Regions from separate parts of the Homo sapiens genome. Here regions 2, 3 and 4 are each linked to region 1. Evidence: promoter capture Hi-C in 16 types of primary human blood cells and fetal thymus (Javierre and others, 2016). All regions are on one chromosome and are shown on one strand. The core of a region is centred on a gene start or on the middle of the fragment in contact, and the rest is flanking DNA. Distances in the headings are between cores, read along the strand shown. Region 1 holds the start of GRIN2A (glutamate ionotropic receptor NMDA type subunit 2A). Region 2 overlaps TMEM114 (transmembrane protein 114). Region 3 has its middle 38 kb from the start of HAPSTR1. Region 4 has its middle 90 kb from the start of HAPSTR1.

Region 1 (3,006 bases), core at 253-2,752:
CCAGACCCCGCGTCCCAGCTTGAGAGCTCAGCTAGTTGGCTGACCCCGCCCCCTACGAGCCCGTCGTGTGCACCACACACTTTGCTCTACGCCCAGCCCCAACTACAGACCCGGCTCCTCTCAGTCAGAGTACACCCCAAGTGCTTGGGAGTGAGGACGCTGCCTGGTGGGCCCAGGCTCCGCTGTGCCTGGGGAACTTGGGGCTCGCCCCACCTCGAGCCAAGGGGCCGTGGAGAGTCCTTCACCCCTACACGCGCGCGTGCACACACACGTGCACACACACACGCACACACACATGTTCACACACACACACCCTCTCTCACGCGCGCCGTGTGCAATGCTGAATTCTGGAGAGTAGGCGCGTCCCCCCGCGGGCCAGCGCGTAGGAGCTGGCAAAGAACGTGCGTAGGGGGAAAGGTAGGCTCCCAAGAAGCTCCCAGACGGACGTGGACTGTACAGCCCCTCCCTAGCCTTTCTACTGCGGGCGCTGTTGCCAAGTCCTAGGTGCACGTGGGCAGTGGGCCGCACACGCTCATAGGCACGCGCGCTTTTCTGCGCACTTCCTCAGACTGCTGTAGCGGTGCCCACGGCCAGCCGGAGTCCTCACATGTCCTCAGGTGGTGCACACGCATGAACTGCGGCAGGTGCACAGCCCTGCGTACCTGCAAATACCAGCACGGTCGTGCACGCGTGCCCTGACGCGCGCCTCTCGGGACGGACGCTGCTGGAGCCGGGGGAAGTTGAGGCGAACTCCAAGAGGCCTCGACGTTCCTGGGTAAGCGCCGCGGAGCGCGGAGCCGCAGCGCCCCCTGGTGCCCCTCCTGCACTTCGCCGCTGGGCTCCCTCCCGCTTTCCCTCTCCCTCTCTAGCCTGATCCCTCTCCCGCTCTCCCTCCGGTCGAGTCTCCCTCCTCCCCGGCCCAAGGAGCCCTGATCTCCCTCTGGGACGTACCTGTAGCCCGAGAAGGTCGAGGATGCAGTGGGGCGCGCTGCGCGCACGAGCATCTCGGCCGCCTCAGCAGCCACCGGGTTTAGCGGGTTCCCGCATGCTGCGGCCCCAGCGCGCTCCCCTGGCTGTCCCGCGCTGTCCGCATCGCCCCCACGGGGGGCGGCTATCCCAGCCGGAGGCTCTGCAGCAGGGCTCTAACGGGGCGGAGGAGAGAAGGAGAGGCAGGGTCAGCCCACCAACGAGGGGAGGGAGGGTTGAGGGGAAGGCTGCAGTCTGCAGTGCTCACAAGCCCCCCTATGCGCCCAGGGGGGCTAGACAAGAGGGGGGAAGCTGAAGCCCGATGCCCACGACGCCCCCAGTGCGGATCCTCAGCCCCTGTGGCTGATAGCGGGAGCTCCACTCCAGGGTGCACAGGAGAATGGGAGCCCCAGGTTGGCCACCCACGAGAAGCTAACTGGGCACCTCCACCCGCACCCCCTACCACCTCCCCAGCGCCGGCTGCTGGGAGTTGTGCGACCGGGAGCTGCTGAGCGAGGGAGGTAGGGAGAGAAAGAGGAGGTAACGAGGGTGGGGGGGCGCTGGCTGAGTTTGTGACGAGCCAGCAGTAGGAGAGGGGGAGGGAAGGACGCGGGCTCCCGCGGTCCCGGTTCCCCGAGGGAGGTGGATCTTTCCCACGCAGCGACCCTCTTGTGATCCTGCCGCTTCCTCCCTCTTCAGGCCTCCCACCTCCCCCCTTCCCAAGGGGGCCTCCCAGGCCCGGCGTCCCGCGCTAGCACTCACCGCAGCCTCTCTCCACATAGTTCTCAGCAGTGGCCGCTCCTGGTCATCTCCAGGGCTGATGGCTGCGGCCGCGATTCTCAGCGCTCACCCGGTCCCATGATCCGGCCAAGCCCTAGGAGCTCCCCTCCAAGATCCCTAGCTCCGCTTCCTGCCCCACTCCGGACGGCAACTGCCCGGTCCTCTGAGCGCGCCGGAGCACCCTCTCCGCAACCCAGCTCCGGGCTGGTGTGTTTGAGGGCGAGTGTGTGTGTGAGTGTGGGAGCGCGCTCGCGTGTGGCCGGGGATCCCCGCGGTCCCCGGCCGAGAGAGGCGCGGGCGGGGAAAGGCAGCTCCCTCCGGGCCCTTCGCTGCTGGGCCAGCTCCGCGCCGGGCGTTCGGCTCCCCACTTCCCAGCGGGAGTCCGGTGAGCGCCTGGACACCCTGGTTCACAGCACTGGCAAAGCCGGGTTCCCGGGGCGTCTTTCTGCTGCGGTCGCCTCCGAGGAAGAGGAGAAGGAAGGTAGCGGCGCCCTCCACACCAACTTAGGGACTTGTTCTCAGCCGGCGAGACGCAGTAGCCCCCGCTCAAGCCCAAGAGGCTTCGAGCTCCGGCGGGCGAAAGCGTCTCCTGCCCGCAGCCTCTCTCCTAGGTGGGTCGAGACAGACCCCGCAGTCCCTCGGCGGCGACGCGGAGCGCGGCCACCCGTTCCGAGAGCGCACGGCGGCAAATAAGGCCAGGATAGGTGGCTGGCTGGCGACGGGGGCGCCTGCGGCGGCGCGCGCTGCTGTCCGTGGTGTTGGAACCACGCTCTCCGCCCGCTCCCGGGCGTCTGGTGCGGCTGAAGAATCAATTATTCAGATCTCTGCTACCGCTTCCTCCTCCCCCAGTGCCTCGCGCTGGGTACAGTTATCCCCCTCCACGCACAGGCGCGCCGACACACACACACACACACACACACACACACACACACACACAGAGTCTGCTCCAATGCTTCTCCCTGTGCCTCGCCACCCCCGTACGGGAACCCACTCCTCTGATCTCAGGGAGCCAGAATCCTAAAAGCAAAGACATCTGCATTTCCCACATGCTTCCTTCTAAGTTCTACCAAACAGAAGCCTCCCTGAGGCTGCCACTTCTAAGCTACCAGAAGAGGTGAGCCAGAGAACATGGGACGGCCCGGGTGTGTGAGGGCTTGGTTGACTTGAATTCTAGCGACTGGGCATGAAATACATGGTCAAGGGAGGAGCTCTGCCCCTTTTATATTCACCTGTATCTCCAACGCCTGTCTGCCTTTCAGG
Region 2 (3,006 bases), core at 338-2,837, 1.6 Mb before region 1:
CCCGGATGGGGAGCCCATTCCCAGGGGCAGAACACCAGGATGAAAGGAGGGATGGATTTTTCTGGGGGAGGACGGAAAAGGTATGATTAGTCTTGAAGAGTGCTCTATCAATTGGCCAACCCCTTGGGAGTCTCGCAGCTTCATATTGTAGACCTAACCTGACCCCGTAGAAAGCCCATGTCATGCCAGAGTTATTTTAGAGCAAAAGGAACTCCAGGCCAGAGCTCCCCAGAGAGAGCTGAACGCATTACAGGGCCCAGGAGGTAGGGCACCCTCTCCCTTTCCCAGACCCACCAAGGAGCTGATCCAAGGGACATGGGTGAGGAGGAAATGAAGTCGGAGGGGGCGTGAGGACTTTGCAATCTGTAAAGCTCTGTGTGTGATTAAAGGATCGTTTTTATTTCTCGCGAAGCGGTTTGGCACTCCCTCGGGCTCCTCCAGGCCACACGGACACACACGGACATAAGCACACAGGTACTAGGATAACAGCCAGGCCCCAAGCTTAGTCCGCGGGGATTTGTGGGGGAAGGAGGGGGGTGCCTGGCCTCCCCGAGTGGCCTTTGAGGAAGAAGAGGCCGCAGCCGATGGAGATCGGTCGGTGAAGCTCCGGGGCCAAGCCCCTCCCTCCCCTCCACGACCCAGCGCCCAGGCTCATATGGCCTGGTCCTGCCTCCGTCTCAGGCTGAGCTCGCGGGCTGCTGCCAGGAAGGCTGCCCCGGTGAGCAGCTCGGCGATGAAGCTGATCCAGCCCAGGGCCAGGGACCAGCCGAAGCTGATGTCCACCTGGTCCAGGAGGGCCTTCTCCTCCAAGAGACACAGCGCCTCCCGGAAGGCGGCGGCTGAATACGCTATGTAGACGCTGATCCCAGCGAGGGTCACCATGGCTGCAGGGAGGGCAAAGGGAGAGCAGATCAATCCCCCACCCCGCCCCAGCACTCCCCTCCTCCTCCTCGCCCTGCCCAGCCACGCTGCTCAGCGTCCAGCGTCCTCGCTCCTTCCTGCTGCGGGACCTTTGCGCGTGCTAGTCTCCCCGCTGGGTGCATTCACCCCTGCTTCTCTGCCTGTCATCGGCAACTCCTACCCTTCCCACACATGGCAGCTCACGCTTCGATTCCTGGACTTGCCTGAGCAGTGATTCCACAGCACCATACAGCTGCCCATCACTGCCCAGGTCACAATTGCAACTTTGCATTCTTTTGTGTAATTTTTTTTTAGACAGAGTCTCGCTCTGTCGCCCAGGCTGGAGTGCAGCGGTGCGATCTCAGCTTGCTGCGATCTCAGCTTGCTGCAACCTCCACCTCCCGGGTTCAAGCTATTCTCCTGCCTCAGCCTCCTGAGTAGCTGGGAATACAGATGCCCGCCACCGCGCCCGGCTAATGTTTGTATTTTTAGTAGAGACAGGGTTTCACCATATTGGCCAGACTGGTCTCAAACTCCTGACCTCAAGTGATCCGCCTGTCTCTGCCTCCTAACGTGCTGGGATTGCAGGCATGTTTGTGTAATTATTTAACTAACATCTGTCTCCCCCAGTGGCCTGTGAGTGTCCAGAGGGCAGACATGCTCCTGTTGGTTTTGCTCATTTTCAATTCCCCAGCACCGAGAACGGTGCCTGGCCCACGGTGGTTCTCCACAGATATTAGATTTGAGCCACATGGTCCAGTACGATAGCCACTGACCAGTTACACATGGCTATTTAAATTTAAGTTAACTAATCTAAATGAAGTTAACAGCTCAGTCCCCCATCAGCACTCACTGCCCTGGCCTGGTTTGCAGCTCCCGATGCTCGGCATGGATTAGGGAACTTCTCCACCATCACAGAAACTTCTACCAGGCAGTGCTGGTTTCGAGAATTTGTCACTGGGTGAACTATTAATGCTAATAGTAATAATAATAGTGAGTGGTTAGAGGAGATGAGAACTTTGCAATATTTTCACCTCCAGACATCCCTTTTGTTTTTTTTCCTCTGTGGATTCCAAGGGAGCATGTCATCACTGCTTTTTTTTTTTTTTAAAAGGAACATTTCAAATACACAGGGATACAGACAGCCTTTAAGGCAGCCAGCCACGTGCCAGGTCCCATTTTTCAAAACCTCTGGTCCACTAAACCAACCAGTGGTGTTAACCTAGCCATTGTCTGTCCACCTGTTGTTTTGTTTCATCTTGTTTTTGTGTGTGCTGCTGTTTAATTGACAAGTAAAAATTGTATGTATTTACGGTACACAGCATGAGGATTTGATATGTGTGTGTACACTGTGGAGTGGCTCGGTCAAACTATTCAACACAGGCACGGCCTCACATACTTAGCATTTCTTTTGTGTGTGGTGAGAACTAAAATCTACTCTCAGCGATTTTCAAGAACACAATAGGCTGTTGTTAACTGCTGTCACCATGACGCCCAATAGATCACTGAACTTCCTTCTTTTCAGCTGAAATTGTGTGTTCTTTGACCAACATCTCCCCACCCTCCCCTGCCCCCACCCCCAGCCTGTTCCATTCTCTCTTTCTGTGAATTTGACTCTTCTAGATTCTACATAGAAAGATCATGAGGTGTTTGTCTTTCTGTGCCTGGTCATGCCCGTTTTTTAGTCGATCAAAGCAGTATCTATCAGAATGGCTGATCAGCAGAATAGAGCGAGGGTGGCTGGAGCGAGGGTCTCCTGCCAGCTCACAGCCCTAAAGCTTGAAGCTATCACGAGTTTGGGCAAAGGTAATACATGCGGCTTCTTTGGTGAAGTAATGAAAAGGATTCTTGGAAGCTGCTCCCTCTGCACTGCTCCTGTCTTGGAACCAGAGACTAAGTGATTCTGGGCTGGAAACCACTCATCTCTTCCAACTGATATCCCAGAAGGGGAAACTGAACCCCACGAGGCCCTGGGATCCCCCTCGTTTGCTGAGGGTTCATACACAGTACCCATTGCCCAACCCCCAGACCACAAGCCAGAGCCCTAGGCAGGGTGGGCACCTACCTCCAAAGAGGAAGAGAATTCCAGTGAGCAGGAGGAGGAGG
Region 3 (3,006 bases), core at 151-2,650, 1.1 Mb before region 1:
TCGAGCCCCCTAAGGCTGGGAACCCTGTATTTTCCTGTGGTGACTCACTTCCTGTTGGGGCCTTGGTTTTTGAAAGACAGAAACAGCTCAGAGTCTGCTCCATGGAAATGGCTGGGCCTGCCCACCAGACCCTTAAAGCGACAGTTTTCCCACGGCAGGGCTTGTCCTGGGAGGTCCCTGGTGGCGAATGGGGTGCTGACAAACGGGCCCAGAACTTCTTGAGTCAGGATTTGAAGCGAGGGGGGTCTGCTGCCAGATTCCACAGCTCAGACACGTCCTCTTTTCCCCACCCGGATTTTCAGTTCCCCTGAGGAACCACCTCTCCGTCTCCGAGTGCCCAGTCTGGTTCACTGAGCCATTTGTGCCCAGAAGGACCTGTAGTGCTGGGCATTTACTTGCTAACCTTGTTTAACTCACTGCCCTGTCTGGGCTCCGCTGCCTTTTGTCTCAAACTGGGTGATAAAACCCCAAGTTAATTGTGAAAATGCATCCTGTTTGCTTGGGGTGGTGCATTCAGATGCTGGCAGCCTGAGACCACAGCGATTCGCAGAGTGCACATCTGTTTAAGGACACTTGAACCTGTGTATTTAAAAACAGACCAGGTTGACCCACCAAGCACATCTGTGGACAGGGCTGTCTTTGGCTTCTCTTGGGTCAGGACACCTGGGAAAATGGGCAGGTACGCTTCCATGCTCCTTCGGAAACAGCTCTCTGGGCCTCACTATCCCCATCTCTAAAATGGGCTCCCTCGCCTGTCCTGGATCTGGGGTTCTGGGCTGGAATGCTCAGGAATCAGTGAACTGTACTCGCAGGTGCTTATTCTCTGGGTTTAGAACCTGCTCCCCCCGCCCCAAACATCTTCCCGTTTCCACACTACCAGGTGGGGTCCTGGTGGTGCCCTGGGCCTGCCCTTCGGGGCTCTGTTCTATAGGACCCTAGGGCTCTTGGTTGTGGCTGTAATCCTGTTATCCTTTGGCAGCAGACAAATCTATGGCTGTGTGCAAAGCAGGCTCTAGCTTCTCTGTAGGCAGGAGAGTGGGGACAAGACAAACTGGAAGTCCACCAATCCTGCAAGAATTCATGAAATGCCCACAGTGGGATGCGAGGGGCCAGTCACCACAGTCGTCTTGATAAGCCCATTCCCCAGCCGGCTCCTGGGTGCTTTCCATGCACATCCCCAAGGGACGTGTTTGTGCCTGTTTTGCTGATGCTCAGAAAGGTGGAGTGATTTGTGTGAGATGTCCAGTTGCGACTCTCACTTAGGATTTTCTCTCTGTAAGGTCCAGGCCCTCTTCCCCTGTGCAACATTTCCTTACCTGATCCTATCAGAGCACAACCCTTGCTTCCGTGGAGCATGTGATCCAGGAGAATGACATGTGGGGTCACTTTTATGTGTTTAACTTGGCTTTTTATTCACTCCAGATAAACGGTGGTGGTTCCCTGTGTAAGCAGAGAGAGAGAGAATAGTTTCCTGTTGATGCTTTTTCCACTGAATTATGCCTTTTAAAAAAATTTAATTTAATTTAATTTTTTTGAGACAGTGTTGCTCTGTTGCCCAGGCTGGAGTACAGTGGTGCAATCTTGGCTCACTGCAGCCTCTGCCTCCCAGGTTCAAGTGATTCTTCTGCGTCAGCCTCTTCAGTAGCTGGGATTACAGGCGCCTGCCACCACGCCCAGCTAATTTTTGTATTTTTAGTAGAGACGGAGTTTCACCATGTTGGCCAGGATGGTCTTGAACTCCTGACCTCAGGTGATCTGCCCATGTCAGCTTTCCAGAGTGCTGGGATTACAGGCGTGAGCCACTGTGCCTGGCCTAAAATTTTAGTGTTTTTTTTTTTTTTGAGATGGAGTTTGGCTCTTATTGCCCAGGCTAGAGTGCAGTGGCGCAATTTCGGCTCACTGCAACCTCCGACTTCCGATTTCAAGCAATTCTCCTGCCTCAGCCTCCCAAGTCGCTGGGATTACAGGCGCCCGCCACCACGCCCAGCTAATTTTTTTGTATTTTTAGTAGAGACGGGGTTTTACCATGTTGGTGAGGCTGGTCTCAAACTGCTTACCTCATGATCCACCCGCCTTGGCCTCCCAAAGTGCTGGGATTACAGGCATGAGCCACTACTCCTGGCCTAAAATTTTAATTAAAATTTTTTTTGAGACAGGGTCTCAACTATGTTGTCCAGGCTGGCATCAAACTCCTAGATTCAAGTGATCTTGTTTCCTCAGCCTCCTGAGTAGTTGGGACTACAGGTGCACACCACTGTGGCGGGCTCCAAATTATGCTTTTTCTTTATGAGAAAAATAGAATTCTTTATTAAGGTGGCTGGTTTAGAATACTAAAGAAAATACGACAGGACTAAACAAAATAATGCCGATGCGCAGTCTCTGGAGACAGGCTGCCTGATTGAATCCTGGCCCCACCACTTACTGAGTTGTGTGACCCTAAGCAAAATGCCCCCCCACTTTTTTTTTGAGACAAGGTCTCGCTGTGTTACCTAGGCTGAAGTGCAGTAACACAATCATAACTCACTGCAGCCTCAGACTCCCAGGCTTAAGCAATCCTCCCACCTCAGCCTACCGAGCTGGGACTACAGGTGTGCATTACCAGACCCATCTAATTTATTTTTTGTAAAGATGAGGTTTCATACCCTCTTCACACCTAAGTGCTATTTCTTTGCAAATTATAGTTCTAACACAAATCCAAAGGGATTTTGGGAAACTGATCGGAAGTACTGTATTCATGTTTGGCTCAAAGAATTCACAGCTGAGAATAGCTAAATAAATTTTGAGATAAAACAGAATTAAGGTCAGGCACAGTGGCTCACACCTGTAATGGTAGCACTTTGGGAGGCCGAGTAGGGCGGATCACAAGGTCAGGAGTTTGAGACCAGCCTGGCCAATATGGTGAAACCCCGTCTTTAGTAAAAATACAAAAAATTAGCCAGGCATGGTGGTGGGCGCCTGTAATCCCAGCTACTCAGGAGGCTGAAGCAGGAGAATTGCTTGAACCTG
Region 4 (3,006 bases), core at 293-2,792, 1.0 Mb before region 1:
CAGCATCAAAGCGATGGTGCTAAATCGTTCCTAAGAAACCACCCCCATGATCCAATCACCTCCCACCAGGCCCCACCTCCAACACTGGGGACTACAACTGAACACGAGATTTGGTTGGGGACACAGATCCAAACCCTATCAATGACCTAGGGCAAGTTTCTCTTCTTTTTATTTTGGAGACGGAGTCTCGCTCTGTCGCCCAGGCTGGAGTGCAGTGGCACGATCTCGGCTCACTGCAACCTCTGGCTCTCAGGTTCAAGCAATTCTCCTGCCTCAGCTTCCCAAGTAGCTGGGATTACAGGTGCCTGCCACCACGCCAGGCTAATTTTTGTATTTTTAGTACAGACGAGGTTTCAGCATGTTGGCCAGGCTGGTCTCAAACTCCTGACCTCAGGTGATCTGCCAGCCTCAGCCTCCCAAAATGTGGGGATTACAGGTGTGAGCCACTGCACCCCATGACAAGTCTGTTTTCTGAAAAAAGGAAACAGTCAAATGATCTCATAGGATTGCAGTCATAATGAAAACAGGAATAACATAATCAAGAGCACATTGGGGGCGCTTGAGAAATATTCCTCCTTCCCAGACACAAGGGTGCGCTGAGTCCTCCAAATGTGCTCGAGGGTGCATGCTTTGAACTAGAGATGCCTTTTTCCAGAAGAAATCACTCTGGTGAACTGGTGGTGGTCCATGATAGCCCATTACATTGCATTTTTAAGGCTGAGAACATTTTCATTAGGAAATATTTCAAACCTTCAGAAAAGTACAAGAAATAATATGACACCCGTGTATGTACCCTAGAGAGTTAATAGATGTTAGCATTTTGTCACGCTTGCTTCAGATCTCTCTTTTACAGAAGGAAGAAAGTGTTACAGATACACTGAGGCGAAACTGTTAATTAAGAATGTAGCTGAACTCTGGTTCCGATGAGGAATTCTGGGCCAGGCCTTTGTGGGTACTAGGGATGTGAGTGAGTTCTCTGGCTTCTGTGAGCTCATCCTCCAGCCGGGAAGGCAGACTCATGAACGGACGATTGTCCTACAATGGGACAAGTGCTGCACTGGTGAAATATACAAGAGCAATGGTGGTGGTGGGGAGTGTGAGAGGTCAGAGAGGGCTTCCTGGAGGAGGTGACATCTAAGATGTACCTTGAAAAAGTGAGTAGATGGTGGGTGTGGTGGCTTTTGCCTGTAATCGCAGTACTTTGGGAGCCCGAGGCAGGTAGATTGCTTGAGCCCAGGAGTTTGAGACCAGCCTGGGAAACATAGCGAAACCAAGTCTATAATAAAAATACAAAAATTAGCCAGGTGTGGTGGCACATGCCTGTAGCCTCAGATACTTGGGAGGCTAAGGTGGGAGGATTGCACTCCAGCCAGGGCAACAGTGAGGCCCTGTATTTAAAAAAAAAAAAAAAAAAAAAAAGGAAAAGAAAATAAAAAGTGAATGGAATTTTGTTGGGCAGACAAAGGGAGAGGTGGGCTTTCTGGGGGAAGGGGCATCATATGTAAAGGCGGGGAAGCTGGAAAAGGTGTGTGAACTGGGATTATGATACACAGGGTAGTGCAGCTTTTTTTCTTCCTTTGAGACAGGGTCTTGTTCTGTTGTCCAGGTTGGAGTACTGTGGCACGATCTCAGCTCACTGCAGCCTAGACCTCCTGGGTTCAAACAATCTTCCCACCTCAGCCTCCCCAGTAACTGGGACCATAGACACGCACCACCATGGCCAACTAATTTTTGTATTTTTTTTTTTGTAGAGATGGGTTTTGGCATTTTGCTGAGGCTGGTCTCAAACTCCTGGCCTCAAGTGATCCGCCCTCCTTGGTCTCCCAAAGTGCTGGGATTATAGGCGTGAGCCACTGTGACTGGTCTGGGTGGTGCAACTTCTGTCTTTTTGAACTGTGAGATGTATCTGTTTCCTATGACTGCCGTAACAAATTATCACACACCAAGTAGCTTAAAATAACAGGAATTTATTCTCTCACAGTTCTGGAGGCTGGAAGTCTGAAAGCAAGGTGTGGGCAGGACCATCCTCTTTCTGAAGACTTAGGAGAGCATCGTGCTTTGCTTTTTCCTGGCTCTTGGTGGCTGCCAGCAGTCCTGGAGTTTCTTTGCTCGTAGATGCGTCACTGCAACCTTTGCATCTGTCATCACTGGCCTCTTCCCTCGGTGTCTCTGTCTCTTCTCCTATTTAGTTATTTGAGACAGAGTCTTCCTCTGGTGCCCAGGCTGGAGTGCAGTGGCATGATCTTGGCTCAATGCAACCTCTGCCTCCCAAGAAGCTGGCACTACAGGTGCATGCCACCATGCCTGGATAATTTTTTGTATTTTTAGTAGAGACAGGCTTTTGCCATGTTGGTCAGGCTGGTCTTGAACTCCTCACCTCAGGTGATCCACCTGCCCTGGCCTCCCAAAGTACTGGAATTACAAGCATGAGCCACCACGCCTGGTCTTACCCTCTTCTTGTAAGGACATCAGTCATAATGGATTAAGGACCCACACTACTTTGGTATGAGCCCATCTTAATGTAACTAATTATAGCTGCAAAGACCCTATTTCCAGATAAGGTCACATTCTGAGGTGCTGCAGATAGGACTTCAATGTATCTCTTTTGGGTGACACAATTAAACCCGTAACAGACGCTTTGCATGTAGCTAGACAGAGATCACTCCTGCCCCACATACTTCATGGAAGACCTGGCCTCTTCATTTCGGGGTTCCTTTCTTGGAAGCAAGCTCTAGAAAGAGGTTGAGCTTTGGAACAGTTTCAGGGAGGCCCAGCTAGTTTTTATTAACCTCCTCAGTGAGCCCCAACATTGGGTTCATCCTGCAATAGGATGGGAAGGGGAGATGATGGAGACTGTGACAGAAATACCAGAAAAAGAGGATACCCCAGAGGGCTGCATCAACATCAGAGGAAGAGGTGATGTGGCTCCCTCTGGATGAAGCTGGCTGTGAATCTCCTTACAGGGAGGATTCTTTGCGCCCCCAGCAAGAAGAGAAGGAGAGGGAG

Evidence for each region. The method cuts DNA at HindIII sites, captures the fragments that hold promoters and counts their contacts. A CHiCAGO score of 5 or more calls a contact.
Region 2: a contact is called between a fragment that was not itself captured here and the fragment with the promoter of GRIN2A in region 1, in 7 of 17 cell types (naive CD8 T cells, non-activated CD4 T cells, total B cells and 4 more). The highest score is 14.3, in naive CD8 T cells.
Region 3: a fragment that was not itself captured here is called in contact with the fragment with the promoter of GRIN2A in region 1 in 1 of 17 cell types (M0 macrophages); the score reaches 5.8 in M0 macrophages.
Region 4: a contact is called between a fragment that was not itself captured here and the fragment with the promoter of GRIN2A in region 1, in 3 of 17 cell types (endothelial precursors, M2 macrophages and M0 macrophages). The highest score is 8.0, in endothelial precursors.

The regions. Positions count from the first base shown.
Region 1 is chr16:10,180,926-10,183,931 of GRCh38, forward strand. GRIN2A (glutamate ionotropic receptor NMDA type subunit 2A) reads right to left here and starts at 1,503. Exons shown (of 13, transcript NM_001134407.3): 1 at 952-1,503. RefSeq lists silencers at 591-700, 711-770. The HindIII fragment of the contact is 14,826 bases long and covers 1-3,006 here.
Region 2 is chr16:8,569,122-8,572,127 of GRCh38, forward strand. TMEM114 (transmembrane protein 114) reads right to left here. Exons shown (of 4, transcript NM_001146336.2): 3 at 2,966-3,006; 4 at 379-884. The coding sequence ends at 652. Among named protein-coding and RNA genes, the nearest start is that of TMEM114, 20 kb to the right of the region's middle. The HindIII fragment of the contact is 2,177 bases long and covers 500-2,676 here.
Region 3 is chr16:9,127,763-9,130,768 of GRCh38, forward strand. No RefSeq gene overlaps it. Among named protein-coding and RNA genes, the nearest start is that of HAPSTR1, 38 kb to the left of the region's middle. RefSeq lists enhancers at 1-475, 1-144, 125-234, 305-384. The HindIII fragment of the contact is 4,774 bases long and covers 1-3,006 here.
Region 4 is chr16:9,180,117-9,183,122 of GRCh38, forward strand. No RefSeq gene overlaps it. Among named protein-coding and RNA genes, the nearest start is that of HAPSTR1, 90 kb to the left of the region's middle. The HindIII fragment of the contact is 4,120 bases long and covers 1-3,006 here.